3 separate regions of the Homo sapiens genome follow, and all the other regions are linked to region 1. The links are contacts of gene promoters, found by promoter capture Hi-C in blood cells and fetal thymus (Javierre and others, 2016). All regions are on one chromosome and are shown on one strand. The core of a region is centred on a gene start or on the middle of the fragment in contact, and the rest is flanking DNA. Distances in the headings are between cores, read along the strand shown.

Evidence for each region. Contacts are between HindIII fragments. The CHiCAGO score rates a contact against its expected background, and 5 or more counts as called.
Region 2: a fragment that was not itself captured here is called in contact with the fragment with the promoter of SLIT1 in region 1 in 2 of 17 cell types (naive B cells and total B cells); the score reaches 5.9 in naive B cells.
Region 3: the fragment with the promoter of TLL2 here is called in contact with the fragment with the promoter of SLIT1 in region 1 in 1 of 17 cell types (naive CD8 T cells); the score reaches 5.2 in naive CD8 T cells.

Annotation. Positions count from the first base shown.
Region 1 is chr10:97,183,885-97,189,001 of GRCh38, forward strand. It overlaps SLIT1 (slit guidance ligand 1), which reads right to left and starts at 2,075. Exons shown (of 37, transcript NM_003061.3): 1 at 1,594-2,075. The coding sequence starts at 1,790. All of the region lies in intron 11 of ARHGAP19-SLIT1 (ARHGAP19-SLIT1 readthrough (NMD candidate)), which reads right to left. RefSeq lists enhancers at 1,919-2,419, 2,420-2,920. The HindIII fragment of the contact is 4,998 bases long and covers 1-3,687 here.
Region 2 is chr10:96,439,029-96,444,145 of GRCh38, forward strand. The region is part of intron 3 of TLL2 (tolloid like 2); the gene reads right to left. Among named protein-coding and RNA genes, the nearest start is that of TLL2, 72 kb to the right of the region's middle. RefSeq lists an enhancer at 3,118-3,756. The HindIII fragment of the contact is 6,194 bases long and covers 1-5,117 here.
Region 3 is chr10:96,511,078-96,516,194 of GRCh38, forward strand. TLL2 (tolloid like 2) reads right to left here and starts at 2,849. Exons shown (of 21, transcript NM_012465.4): 1 at 2,434-2,849. The coding sequence starts at 2,608. RefSeq lists enhancers at 921-1,440, 2,630-2,699. The HindIII fragment of the contact is 13,060 bases long and covers 1-5,117 here.

The sequences.
Region 1 (5,117 bases), core at 825-3,324:
CAGATTTCTGACCCTCAGATCCTCTCTGGGTCCACACAGGATAATGCACACGCTGCCCACAGAAACTCAGTTTGGTACCACCTCTCCCCAGCCCTGTAACACACAAGCATTCACACACACACATACACATGCACCACACACACACACACACACACACACACACACACACACACACTTCCCATCTAGATTGCATCTAGATTGCAAATTCTCTAAAACCTCCACGGGAATTTTTCAGATGCAGCCAAGAAGAGTCTGGGGCAAATGTGTGCTCACTAATTGCTGGCCTTGGTACAGAGTCTGATTCGGGAGACAGCTCTCCTCAGGGTCAGATTTCTGTCTCTGACCAGCTGGGGGCCATGAAAATGTGCTCGAAAGTTATCAAAATATGCACACCTTTCCTGAGAGCCACTGCAGTCACCGAGGAGTGTGGGAAGGAGGAGTAGGTAGGTTTCAAAGGAGCCAGCAGCCTTCTCCAAAGCCCTGTTCAAAAATCTCCTGGTGTAGTCACCTCTGCGAGCAGTACAAAGGCCCTGCATGTGACCAAAATCTACACACACACAGCCCATTACGGGGACTCTCATGGCCTCACGCTATTAAGGTGGCCCCTTAATACTAGGAATTCACACAGAAACACATTCTGCAGGAGAGTCACAGAAAACAAAGTATAAAGGTCTGTAAATACACACACTCAAACACACCCAAACACACACACACACATTCTACTAGCTTACTGGGTCTAGAAAAGAAAAGGATCAAGTTTCCTCAAGAATTCACAAGTGAGACAGAACAGGGGAAGAGAAATGCTATTTTTTTATTACTTGTCATGGTCAATATCTTTAACCTTGGGCCCCCCTCTCCAAGCTCCTGACTTCTTGGCATTATCCACCGGGTTCTCCATCCAAGACACACCTGCCCCTTTTCGGGTGCTGAATGTTACATACCCCAAGCCCCATACCCAAAGCCCTCAGGTCCCATTGTCTGCCTGTGTTGGGGATGGCTGGGTGTGGAGGGAGGCGGGTGAGTAGGGGACCAACGCGTGGCACCTGCAGGGGAAGAATTCTCAAGGCTCTGGGGCAAACAATGGAGAAGAAGGGGCAGACCAGAAACTTCGCCTCCATCCCACCCTGCTGCCCTTCGTCAGGAGCAAGCTCTGGGAGCGGGAATCTGCGCAGCTGGCTCAGAACGCGGCCGTAGCCCCATGTGCCCAAAAGGAGACATTGTGCTTGGCGAGTGTGGGAAGTGTCCCTCCTGGGTGCAAGGAAGGCTTTCTGACACCAGTTCGCAGGCACCCTGGAGGAATAAAGCGCTGGCGCAGTGAGGAGGGCCTGAGGGTGCGGAGTGCAGGGTGCAGGGTGCAGGTGTGAGGACGGAAGCTGACAACCCCGCCGAGGGCCCTTTGAATCCCAGGGATGGGGAAACCACGGCGCTCCTGGCTCCTGGCTCGGGAAAGACCCCGGCAGGCACTGACCCGTCTGTGGGCTGCGGAGCCCGGACGGGCCCCAATGGTCCTGCCCCCACCCCCAAGTCCGGAATTGCGTCTGGGTGGGAGGGCAACCTCGGAGCCAGGGAGCCAGGGGCGGGGACCATACTCACAGGCGCTCGGTGTTCCGAGGTATATTCTTGGGAATGGCCTGCAGCCCCGTGCCGTGGCAGTCCACCGTGGTTCCGGTGCAGGTGCAGAGGGCGGGGCACGCCGAGGCACCCAGGCGCCACGCGGCTGCCCACAGCAGCAGCCAGAGCTCCGGCCGGACCGGCCCCGCCGAGGACCCCCACCCGGGAGTCAGCGCCATGGTGCCCTCACAGCGTCCCGCTCGCGAGCCAGACGGCAGCAGCCGCTGACCATCCCCGTCCGGGGCCGCCTCCAGGTGCAGTCCCGGGGCAGAGCCACCGAAGAGCCCGCGGGCTTGCGCGCGGCGCCCCTGCGGGCTGGGAGGCACCTTGCTCCTCCAAGCGACGGCGCCTGTGCGCGGACGGAGGGAGGGCGCCTTGGGCGGAGGGGGCTCGGCTCCTCTGCCGTTTCGCCGCCTGCGTCTCCCTCTCCCTCCCTCCAGCTCCCAACTGACTGCTGCGAGGAGGAAAATGGGCAGGCCCCGCGCGCGCACGCACCCTGCGCACACACCACACACACACACACGATCACACACACACCCGCGCGCTCGCTCCCACCCGGCAGTCATCCATCAATCGAAAAGCACACATCCAGGGCCAGGCTCCTCCCCGCCCTCCCCCGCCGCAGCCCCCCTCTCCCGACGACCACTCAGCGGCTGCAAGCCGCCTACAGTTTCAAAGGTGGAACCTCCGAGGCGCCGTCAGCGGGCACGGGGCTGCGGGGGATGGGAGAAGAGGGAAGGGGGTGTGACTCGACCCGCCAAGTCCTGGCTGTACACACACACACACACACACACACACACACACACACACACACACGGCGAGGATGCGCACATTTAGACGCACGCACCCCGGCACCCGCGGCCCCAGCTGCTAGTCCAGGGTGGGAGGGAGATCTTATTTTGCCGCTTGGACGCCTTCCCGGGGAGTCAGACCCGTTTCCCCCCATCCCCCGACGGCAGCAGCGGCCTCTCGGCCCCACCCGACTCGCTGTGTCAATTCTTGGTTAAGGGAAACCCTGTGCCTGTGCCCCAGGTAGCATCCTCAAGCCACCAACCTTACTTAGCCTGGACTTTGAGGATGGAGCTTTGTCGGGGGGGAGGGTCCACGAAAGCGCTAGGCGGAGTACAGTCTCCTTCCTACCTCAATGCACCCACTTCTCAGAGGGGAACAAGCTAGCCGCATGCCCAGGATGAGAATGGCTCTGATTGGAACACTTGCTCAGCAGGGCGTATTTGTACCATACAGTTACACGGGCTTCTTCCCCCGTTGTAGAAGAGAGGGACAGACATTAAGGGGACTTGGAAATCTGGCAAACGTCTTCCTCCACTCACACCAGCGTTCCTCCATTTCTGACAGGTGGAAACAGATGAAAATGAATATTCCATCTTGACATCAAAGGAGACAGAGAGGGCTGGCATAGCGCTGGGCGGCCTGCTTGGGAGAGAACCCCACAGGCCAGCCCCGTCAGACCCAGGCCTCACACCCGGCTGGGTAGGGACCTTCGTCACCGTAAGGCATGTGTGGACGTGGGTGTGAACGGGACATCCAGGTGGGGAGAGAATTCTCCTCAACCCCAGAAAAGACGAAAGATCTCCTCAACGCCAAGGACAGCTGTGGCTCGCTGGGGCAGTGTCCAGCAGTCGGGGCCTTGACGTGAGGCTGCTTGGCAAGAGGACACAGCTGGGTAGCCCGAGAAGCACCTCCCGTCTCAGGAGCGGCCTGGGTCCAGACACAGCATGGACGCATTTGGTGGGGAGAGTGTCGGGCAGGGTGGGGATAGGGGAGGTTGATAGACTCCACAAGGTTGAAGCCTTATCACCCACCAGGTACCCAAGGCTCAGGCGTTTTCTTTGCTTTTCTTTTCCATGTTGATGAGAATTTTGCAGTCTCTCTACTGTCATAGCACAGTATGTTACAATTTAGGTGGCTGATTTTATGGGCTTTTGACAGTTCTTTTAAAGTTTTCACACATCCCTGTCCATGACCTCCATCCGGTAAGTGGGTTCTTGAGCATAAGTTCAGTTTCTCAGGGGGCAGGGCTTTCTCAGGGGTGCCTGTGTGGTGGGATATTAGGGAAGCTTCCCACAAACCAGGCCGGAGTCTGAGAGGGCTGCCCCTGCCCTGCAGCTCACCAGCTCCTGCTCCATGGGGCCCCAGCCCCTCTATCCATGCTCTCCCCGCAGCCTCAGAGTGACATTCCTCCATGCCCGCTGCTTTGTTTATCCCCTCTTAGTACCTGCAGCTGCTTCTCCACACCCCTGCCCACCCCCTGGCATCCTCACTCGCTCACCCAGACACACACCCCAGCACCTGGCACTTAGTAGGCCTGTCACAGACAGCACTCAGGCTGTTGAAGATGTCTCCAGCCTTCTGCTCCAGCAGTAGCTCCCTGGTCCCAGGACCTCGGAGGGCCCCTTGGAAGCCAAGACCCATGTGGAGAAGGGAGAGAGTGTTGATTAGCCAGGCGACATGCCCCTAGGTCCTCAGAGTGACAGAGTGAAGGGGTATGAGGAAGGGTGGGAGTGAGCAGGGGTGCAAGATCAGCCCTGCCTATGGCTCCTGAGAACCAGCCCCTGCCCTAGAAGCTTCCAGACCAGCCTGGACAGTGAATCCCAAGCAGGCCCTGGGCTGAGTTGCTGCTGCCTGGCAAAGCCTGGCTTTTCCTCTGAAGGGAGGGAAGGAAGGAGCCCCCCAGACCCAGGACAAAGACTCCCCCAGCAGCCCATCACAGGGGGCCCTGCCCAAGCAGCGGGCAGCTCCCCAGCTTGGCTCCTGTCCCTGGTTCCTCCACCCCAGAACCTGGCCAGCTCCCCAATTCAGGAGGCGGCTCGCCATGAATGAGCGCAGCTCATTAGCGTGCCCGGCACATTTACTTGTTAAACAACTGCCTGGCTGGCCGCACACCCCCAAGCCCCACTCTGTTTTTTCAATTTCCTCTCCCATGCCCCTCCCTCTCTTGGGTCTCCCTACCCCCTCCCTGCAGCCGGGCCACCTGCTCCCGCTGCACGGGTGGGGAGGAGGCAGGCCTGGCACATTGCTTCTGCCAGGAATACTCCACCAAGCCTGTCCCTGCTCACCTGCCACCAGCAGGGCAACCCCCTGGAAGGGAAATTTGAGGTTGAGTCTCCCCAGCCCAGTGACGTGAGTCCCCTCTGAGTCCTCTCAGCCACATGTGCTGGGAGTTGAGGGCCACTTCCCCCGTGTGACTCAAGAAGAGAGCGTTCTCTTTATGGCTTCTGCACAGAGTCCTCTCTCCCACCGCCACCAGCCCCTTTTGGAGCACCAAGAAGCGGGAGAACCTGGGTGAGGCTGAGGAGCATTGTGGGATGGATTTCCAAACTGCAAAAAGGAAAAGTGAGACAGAATGCCTTCTAAGTAGACATCTGATAAACACCACTTACGGAGTATCTGTGTACTACATGTGCTGTACTGGAACTCAGCAATTCAACAGGGGACAAGAATGGCCCTGGCCCTCAGTGGGCTCACTGTCCGGTGGGGGCACAGAA
Region 2 (5,117 bases), core at 938-3,437, 740 kb before region 1:
TTTTTGTACATTGTTGGATTTCATTTGCTAATTTTTTTAAGGATTTCTGCATGTAAGTTTAATTCGGTTTTAGGGTTGTCTCTTTTTTTTGAGACGGAGTCTCACTCTGTTGCCCAGGCTGGAGTGCAGTGGTGCGATCTCGGCTCACTGCAAGCTCCACCTCCCAAGTTCAAGAGATTCTCCTGCCTCAGCCTCCCAAGTAGCTGGGGCTACAGACATGTGCACCCATGCCTAGCTGATTTTTGTGTTTTTAGTAGAGATAGGGTTTCACTATGTTGGCCAGGCTGGTTTTGAACTCCTGGCCTCAAGTGATCCACCCTATTTGGCCTCCCAAAGTGCTGGGATTACAGGTGTCTAAAACTTTTCAATAAACTTTCACTCCTGCTCTAAAACTTGCCTGGGTCTCTCTCTCTCTCTGCCTTATGCCCCTTGGCTGAATTCTTTCCTCCGAGGAGGCAAGAATCAAATTGCTGCAGACCTGTATGGATTTGCTGCTGCTAACATCACCAACATCTGAGGCTTCCTTCTGTGAGTTATGTTCCTTATTCGCTTCTGATCATGGCCATTCACCTTTCTTTCCTTTGAACTCAACTCTGTATTTTTCACTTGGGGTGGTGAAAAGGTAATATTTTTTTCAGTGTTCCTCTACTTGTATAACGGGTTCCTACTCATCTAGTTGGTCATATTTCCAGACCCAGAAAGTTGGTATGTAATACACTGTTAAACCTGAAAATAATTATCTTACCACCAGAATTTCTAGAACAGAAGTCATACACTTGCAGTGCTGGGATAAACCCAACCCGCAGATGTGTTTCTGTTTGGCCTGGACACTTTTGGCCCACACTATGTTTTTTTAAAAATCTCCCTGTACGAGCCAACTTTTAAAAATCAAGGGATTTCACATAAGAATCCAGATTTTCTAGTTTTTCTTTAAAAACTGAAAGATTTGGCAACAGCAGGCCCATCTTCCATCATAGTACAACCAGCTGGAGTTTAGAAGCACCTGCTCTCCATAGTCAGAGCACATGTTCTGTTTGCTAGAATCTCTCTCCCCCTTCACATTGTCCTATTCAGCTTACTTCACCTTTTAGATGACCTACCTGCCCTCTACGGAAGATATTCTAATTTGCTATTCCAGCCCTAAACTACAAATTGCATCAAGATGTCAAATGTGAATTTTTCTGGTAGACTGGAAGCTCCATGAGGGCAAGAAATGTTGCCAGCTTGTTCTCCACTTTATTCTCCACACCCTGCATGGTGCCTGACTGGTGGTGAGCATTCAATATTTTTATATTTTGAATGTATGAATTAAAGAAGGGATGAGCTATTCTAAAAATAAACAGCCCAACAGTCCAAACAACTCTGTGTTGGAAACCTCTCCAAAATGTTGGCAACACTGAAGCCCTTAATGTTTACATCCTGAGAATTATCCAGTCTTAAGTAATCACAGGCAGCAATGTAGCAAGTGGAAGTTTGTTACTCATTTCCCATATGGTTTTCAACAAGTCTCTTAATTTTCCTCTGTCGCCAACTCTCCTTTGGAGAATGGGCAAAAATACTTCTCTATTCAAAGAAATAACACTAAGATACTCCGTGTTTCTCTGACAAGCTGTGCTGCATATACATGTGACCTGGTATTATAAGGGTCTGTTTTATGCAGCCAAGTCAGCATGGGAAAATCTTAAGTGCACCTGGAAAGAAGCTAGGGTGTAATTTCCAGAAATGGGTTATTGAATGACAGCTTCCCCTTTGGTCCAGTGAGAAATTTAATTTGCTAAGGACTCAACACAGGAAGCATTTGCCGATTAAAAATATGTCTAAACAGATGTTCTGCTTAGCCTGGAAGAAGGATCTTAATGCAACTGTCATTATTGGATTTTCTTGGATTACTACTATCTGGAATCGGAGTCCAAATAGAAGGATGTAATTATTTATTATGGCCAAGAGTCCTGCATTTGAAGAGGAGCTCAGGGCGTCTGACAGGATTTAACACGCTGGGGGTAGGGTTGAGGGGGGATAAAGCCCATTTAAATTCTCTGGCTCTGGGAGCGAGCCCTGTCCTCTCTGAAAGAGCAAAGCGGTTGTTGCTTTTCAATCTTCTATTTCCAGCTGAAGGCACAGCCATGTCATAAACAGAACCAGGCCTGAGGCAGCCTTCTCCAGTGAGGAAGTGCAATTTTTAGATTAGGCAATTGGTCATTCCCACACGGGAAGTAAACACGCTGACAGCCCAGCCATCTGCATAACCCTCACCCCAAAGGTGATGGGTGAATTTGCACCTCACCTGCAGCAATCTCGAAAGGCTGAAGGCCGCTAAGTAAAGGGGAGACTAGACCATTCTGCACAGTGGTTCTCAAACCTGGCTGCACATTAGATTCAACTGGGGAGCTTTTAAAAAATTCTGGTGTCTGCCTCCCTGCTCTGAGACTGAGAATCAATTGGCCTTAGAGTGGAGTCAAGGCACCTGCAGTTTCTAAAGCTCCCCAGGTGATTACAAAGCTCAGTGAAGTTTGGGAACCACTGATACAGCCCAAAGGTTAAGATCAAGGGGTTTGGGGTCAGGGGGACTTAAGCTCAAGATAAATGCTGCCATTTGCTACCTACATGGCTTTGGACAAATCACTTCCCCTTCGGAGCCTCACTTCCTGCTGCAGGGCGGTGGTGACCCAGGTAATGAATGTCAAATGCCTGCGGTGAGTAAGGGCTCAGTGTGAGCTGCCACAATGGCTACGAAAGTCTGCATTTGAGACAGGCTAAAAAGGAAGGCCTGAAGTTCGTGGGGCTCAGTTGTTACACCCAAGTAAACTGACGTAAGTGATGTTAGGAATTCCAGCGTCGAGTGCTGTTTTGCACCCAAGTTTGTGGGATGCCTGTCCTCTGGTTCAACCAGATTCCATTATTATTTGCTTTCACACAAAGCCCCTAGGAAATGTTACTGAAAGTGAAAGGTCCATTCTCTTTCATGAATATGGTTCTGGAAATCAGGCTCTATCAAAACAGTCACAGCTTCATTCATGGAGCAGTTGCACACTCCATTTCATTAATCCCATTATCAGCCCTGAAATGCATGCTGAGCTCTCATCTCCAGAGGAGGGAGAGCCTTCTGACCAAAGGGTCTGCCGGAGGGGATGTTGAGTGAGCATTTCAGCCCTTTCCCCCTCCCCAAAGCTGGAGGCACAAATCCCCACCGTCAGGGCTGAGGGGAGCCACATAATGCCAGGAAATAAACCTGCTGCCGAAACTGGGCGCTTCCCTCAGATCCTTTCTCCTGCCTGGGCGGTCTCTTTTCCTGGGGGTGGTGGAAGGGGGGCAAGTTGTGATTAAAGGGAACCTGAGATTGACACAACGTGTCTTATCTTTCATTCAAATAAAAGCAAGAGGCATCCAGCGCTGGCGCCGACAGCATCCTGAGGGTTGGGATGGGAAGGATGGAGGGACTGGTTAGAACGGCCTGCCCTCACCTCACTTCGAGATTTCCTTCCTCTTCAGGACTGCCCTGGATGCTTAAAGACATGCTTGTCTGCTGCTGTAATGCAGAGTGAAGGGACTGGCCTAGCCTGCACATTCCTTATCCGCTTCGAACAAACCAGGGCCATTTGGGGGAACTGCAGACTAGGGCACTGCTATCATCACCCTCCCTGAAAAGCCCAAGATTTTTTGTTGCAGTGTGGGTGCTGTGCACAACCCCACCAGAGGCAGAATTTTAATGGGCCACAGCCGCCGTCTTCCTTCCTGTCCTCTGTAATTGTGTTTCTATGCAGCTGTTGCACAGCTGTGGAATCCCAGTCCAGAGGTAGATGATGCACTTTCAATGCTGGATAATATAATTCCTGGAGGTGGAGGTGGAAGAGCTACATTCCTTGAGCCTCTTTTAAGTTCCAGACACCTGGCTATGTGCTTTACATAAATATTATTTCTAATTCCCTCTAAACCTCATACAAGCAGTTAAATAACTTATCCAAAGTCATAGCTACTAAGTGGGTGAGCTGGGATTCAAACCCAAGTGTGTCTGACTGTCCAAGTTTATAGTTGGGTCATTTTACACCCAACGAACTAGTAAATATCAAAAACTCTGACAATATCTATTGCTGGGGAGCAGAGGCAAGGGGGGAAGGTGGTAGATAGTCTCCAAATATGGCCGCCAAGTCCCCTTATCCCTGTGAGGTCATGCCACTTCTCTCGTGAAGGAGTAGAATCTATTTCTCTCTCCTTGAATCTGGTCTGGTCGTTTGGCTTATTTTGTTAACAGAACGTAGCAGAAGTAGCATTCTTGAAGTTTTGAGTCCAGGCCTTAAATGGACTGGCAACTTCTGTTCCTTCCCTCTGGGAAGCCAATCACCATGCTATGAAAAGTTTCTGATTAGACAACTGAATGGTGACAGTCTGCATGGAGAGCAGGGCCACAAGGAGGCACACTGGGGCACTGGAGGTGTAGCTAAAGTTTTTTTGGACCTTCCAGCCCAGTCCACCTGCTAGATAAATTCAGTCAAGTGAGTGACCCCAGATGGCATCAGCCAAAGAACCACCCTACTGAACCCAGTCAACCCCCAGAATCATGAAAATAACAAACTATTGTTTGAAGTCACTAAGTTTGGGTGTGGTCTTTATGCAACAATAAATCACATAAATAAGGAAGAAAAATGAGTGTGGCATCTTTGTCACTGCAGTGTGATGACAAACTCTGCTGGATTCATTCACACATGCTCCATTTTTACCACTAAGTGCTGATCATTTGTGGCAAAGTGAAGGACCATTGAGTACCAGATGTCTGGGGAGCCCAAAAACTTATAAGTCAAAATATCCTTAAATAAGCAAAGCAGAAAAACGCGGATCTGAAAGCAAGCCCTGCACATAGCCCAAACAACAAGCTGTATAGCTAAGAAACAAATGCAGATTAGTTACATGGGTGACTAAAGGATCTGCCTCTCTCTAAAAGAAGTCAGATTGAAGAGGAAGATCAGCAACCCAATAGGAAAATGGGCACAGGACAGGAAGAGGCGATTCCCACTGACAAACATAGGAAAAAATGTTCAACGGCACCAGCAGTCAGAGGAGTACAAATTAAATATCAATAAGCCACAGCTTACTTGTTAAAAACACTGATAATGAGTTCTCCC
Region 3 (5,117 bases), core at 1,599-4,098, 670 kb before region 1:
CAAGAAGGGACAGTGGGAGGTGTTTTAGCTTTGCAGCCCTGAGGCAGGTCCTAAAAGGAGAGCTTCTGGCCAGAAGAGTCAGGGAGTTAGGATTTCACTGAGATAGAATGGGAGGCTGCCCCTAAAGGTTTGCCTTAAATATGCAACCAGGAAATGCAGTGTCCCGCTAGCCAAGAGGCAAGTCCTTTCTCTGAGACTTCAGTACACTGATGAACTGCTTGCTGGCCTTCCAGACAGCTGTTCTCCAGGTCAGGCAATTTCCAAGAGGATGGGCGGACTGAGATGTTACCTTTTCCCCCAGGTTGTCCTTATCATCGCCCTCTTCTGGCCACTCTTAGCATCAGTGTAGCCCAGGGAGAGGCCAATGAGTTGGGAGAATTCAAGGAGTCTGAGGAGGGTGCCTGCAGCTGGCTGAAGCCACACTGGCCATATCCTCTGCCTTCCAGCCCTGCCTGTGCATCCCATTCTGTCTGTGAAGAATCACAGAATATGCGTGCCCCTGATTATCTTGCATTTTCTCTAAAATTACTGGGGAAAATGAGGCTGTAACAGGCAAGCCTGCCTCAGGGTTATCCTCCAAGGCTGAGACGGGGAGCTGGCATGCCTCTTTCACATCTGGATTCACAAGTGCCCAGACCAGCACCCAGCATACTGGAGATGCACAATACATTCCTGAGCAAATCAATCACTTCCCCACTCCGGGCCTCAGCGGCCCACACTGCCTCCCAGAGTCCCCAGGTCACACCCAGCAGGGTCTAGGATCTGACAAGTGGGGGAGGTGGTCCAGCCACTCCCTTTATCCCACACCTATTTTCCCAGCTTCAGTGGCCCTCTTTTCAGGGCCAGGCTGCCATTCCAATAGTGCTCTGGAGCCTCTTCTCCCTGGCCTTGAATTAGGTCCCATAAGGAACTCATGGTACCTGGGCCAGGCATGCTACCTGCTGAGGTTTTCTCCAGTTGTCCAGGAACCAACTCCTCTGCCCACCTTCCTAACTCAGAAGCCCCAAGAGATACAGCAGTAGGTAGATATTCTGCAGGAAACTTCCCTTACTAAGACCAGGCCCCTCAAGACTAGTTTGATCTCAAACCTTCACAAGATTCTCAAGTCTCACAAACTCCTCCTGCCTCCTAGTAACCTGGTCTTCCCCAGACTTTACCCAGTTCTGACCCTCCCAACCCCCAGCCTAGACCCGAGCCACTGCAGTGATAGAAACAATAAAAAATAACGACAATGCCATCATTTCACTTGCAGAGAATTTTCCCACAAATCACCTGAGTCCTCCTATAATTACTGCCACCAATTTAGAGATGAGTAACCTGGAACTGATAGAGGTTTCCAGGGCGTGAAGGGGCAACCACTGGCCCACAGGCCCCGCAGAGACCTGGCCGGCCACAGCCCCGGGAAGGAGCACCTGCCTCGCCGAGGGTGGAGGTCGCGCTCTTCCCTCCCCATTCTTCTCTGCCGACCGCCAAGTGAAACGGGGCCCCACAAAGCCGGAGATAAACACCACTACTCGCGGGACACTGGCCATGGGCCAGGAGCGTCTGTGCGAGCCTCTGAGCCCAGCATCTCCCTGGGAGCGTGAGCGTGAGCACCCCTCTGTCCGTGCTGGAACTGCCCCACACTCATCAGCTTGCTGGAACATGCGCTTGGCCCTTCGGAGGCTAACGCTTCAACGACTCCAGCTCGGAAGCCGCTCCCCTCAGGACTCACGAGCCGATCAGTGGCCCCGAGGAAGCGGGAGCTGCAGCGCCCGGGCGGCGATTGCGCCCGAAAGGCCCGTACGTCCTGGGGCGCCGCTTCCTGGAGGGATTAGAGCACCTGCCGGCTTCCATCTCCGCCCGCCCAGAGCGACCCTCAGGCCGGTACCGCTACAGGGAAGTTTCCGGCTATTCGAGTCTTGCTCATTCTCCCTCGGCGACCCCTTTCCTTTTGCCCGCTGTGACGCTTTTCTTTTTAAAATCTCCCAAGAGTAACCACAGATCTTGGGAAACTTTGCGCGAAACTTAAAAATGCTGTGAAATCGGAGCCAGGAACTCCATCTGAGCCTCGGAGCGCCGCGCCCAGTCCAGCTCTTCTGCTCCGGCCCGGAGCGTCTGGCGGTGGCCAGTGCTGCCCACTCGCTGTCAGGCGGCCCTGGCACCCACCCCGGCCCCTGGGCGCCCTCTCGGCCTCTGGCACCCGCTCTGATTCGCTTTGGGAACGCGCCAGCTGTCGCCCCCCGGTGCGCACCGCAAACCTGGGGCCGGGACATCCCAGCCTCGGAGTGGTTTTTAAGCAATTCCTCGGAGGCATTGTCTTCCGGGGGAGCCGGGGATCTCAGGGGAGGGGAGGGGAGACCCGCCCCATAGACGGTAGTGCAGGCTTGCCCACCACCTCATTTGCATTTCAAAGGCAAACTTCTGCGGGACTTCCCCAGCGGCGGCACCTACCGGCTTTGCAAGGGTCGTGGTAATGCTCCAGCTGCTGCTCCGTGCCCTCCTCGCCGTCCAGCTCTGAGTAGTCTGCGGTGGCGTCCGGGCGCTCCCCGAGTCCCCCGGCGCCGCGAGGCAGCGGCAGCAGCAGCAGCAGTGACACCAGGGCCCCAAGTGCAGTCGCCCGGGGCATGGTGGCGCGGGGCCGGCTGGGGCAGAGGGAGTTGCGTGCACGAAAGCTCAGCTCGGCCGAAAGACGGCGCACACTGGGTCGGTCGGCTCCGGCCGGGACTCGGTGGTTACACAGGGCTGCTGGGCATGGCTCAGGCGCGGAGCAAGCGGAGCGCGGCGCCCCCTGTCTTCGTCGAGGCAACCGGGAAGCAGCCGCTCGGAGCTACTTGCCCGGCGGCCGAGGCTGCGGCGGCTGCGAGTGTGGCGGTGGCGGCGGTGGTTGGAGCAGTGGCCGCTCCGCCCCTCTCCACCAGGGCTGGACCACACAGCCTTCGCCCGGGGCCCTAAGCAGCCAATCACTCGGGCGCCCGAGGCGAGGCCCCTCCTCTTCCCGGCACCTTCGCAACTTCGGAGGCAGGCGAGCGAGGTGAAGATGCTGGAGCCAAAGGCCGGGGCCAGCTCCGCACCCACCCAGCCTAAGGCGCCTGCCCGGGGCGCCACCTCGGCCTCTGGCTCCCGAGAATGCTGCTCCTGAAGATCGGGACTGGGCTTCTCGCCTTGTTTTATTTCCATAACTCACTTTACAACTCCCCGATGCACACGTGGCCAGAGTGGTTAGAACTCGGAGCGCTGGACCAGGAGCCCTGTGTACGGATTCATGTCACTACCAACTGGCTATGTGCATTCGGGCAGCTGCTTCTTTGCAGGGATGAGTGAATGTCTCTCAGGTCCCTCTCAGCAAAGAAAAAAAAATCGAGGATTTCGATTCTCTCAGCTCTCTCCACATTCCCTAGTCGAGCCATGAAGGGCGCTTGCTGGCGGCAACTAACCTAACCTAGTGGCCGGCGATAGGTAATGAAAAAAGATTTAAGTCCACAGATTTCCCCTCTCGGTGACCCTATCTTTCAGTAAAACCGTCTAAGATGCTTCACACAGTCAAAAAGACACAAATGAACAGCTGTACGTGCTACTTGTGTTAAATTACAGACATGTTTTTATTAAATAAGCCACTCACCGTTAACTTGATGGAATAAAAATGACCAATTTCTGAAGTCTGTTTTTTTTTTGCCAATTAAAAACATATGCCCAAATAATGACACTAATCAAGAGCTATTTGAAACCCACTTCTATTTTGTACCTAAAATGTAAAAATTCTCAGAACTGAGCCATTTTGATTTAGAGATATAAAAAGTATTATTACTGTGAGGCTTTTCAAAGATCTTTTTATGCAAGTAAAATGGCCCTGTCAACTATAACACACAAATGTGTATGTGTAGAAATGTTTTGCATCATGCCCAGTAGAATCTTTTTTCAATTTAAACTGCAAGCAGAAAAATGGACAACTTTCCTTTTGGATTTCCACATGGTTTCACATACATCAATGACAAAATAGTCAACAGGGAGCCCAGAGCTGGGCTTCACATCAAACTCTGAATTTCTTGCACTTATGGTCATCTGTCTTCTCATCTATCAACTGGGATAACAAGTCCTTCACACAAGTAAAGGGCTAAAAGTTAACTATTGGAAGGATGCTACTCATATTTTGTCCTCGTTCTTAGAAAGAAATGCAATGTTGACCCTGCCTCATGCTGTTTTCATCAAATGGGCACATAACATACAGAATGGAGCCAGACAGGGCAAGATCTGGTTAGAAACTGGCAGGTGGAAGGAAGGAATTTGAAGAGGATAAATGCCACCAAATGGCAGGAAGGCCAAGTGGCCAGCGCATAGGCAAAGGAGTGGGAGGGGGTTGAATGGCATGCATTTCTGCCTGAAAGCCAGGAGTCAAACCCAACGCCATAGCTCTCTGCATTCACCCCCATGAAGGTCATCACCTCTCAGTAGACGAGTCCAAAGAGTCAACATCTAAAAGGCCTAACAAACTTCTGTGACACTTCCAGGTCTCCAGATGGCACTAGGCAAACCACCAACTGGCTTCCTTATTAGAAGGGAATTCCTCTGGAAAATAGACATGAGAGGCCACCTCTTGTGCAAGCAATGAGGTTGTGAGCTTTTATGACCTCTAATGCCCAGCTGGTGAGTAGTGGCCAGGTCTTCTCACCAACACCCTTTGTCCAAATATTTTGAAGACAGTGGTGTTGAAGAATGAACAAGCTGCACAGTTTTATGTTATTAAAGTAGAAGGCCAGTTTAGTTGCTACTTTGGCTATCAACCAATAAATGGCAACAAAATATTTGGTTCACTAGAAAGATCAGAAAAGAATAATTGAAAAGGGACACCATAAGATAGAACTATAAAAGCTAAACTCTAATCTGGGTTTAGATGATTTTTATAATGTATTTTTCTTTAATTTAAAAACCATGAAAAAACTGGAGGTAGAGTAACAGGCTTTATGACATAAAACTGCTCAACTTAGCTCCATTATTACATTAATAATTACTTCAGGGTTTCCTCTGCCATATCTCTGGGTCCTCTGTGAACCTGAACAAGTGTTTTTCTCCTCTTAGATGTCCATCTCCCACCCAGAGTAACTGGGTTCTCTTGCCCCTTCAAGTCTACTGAGTTTTAT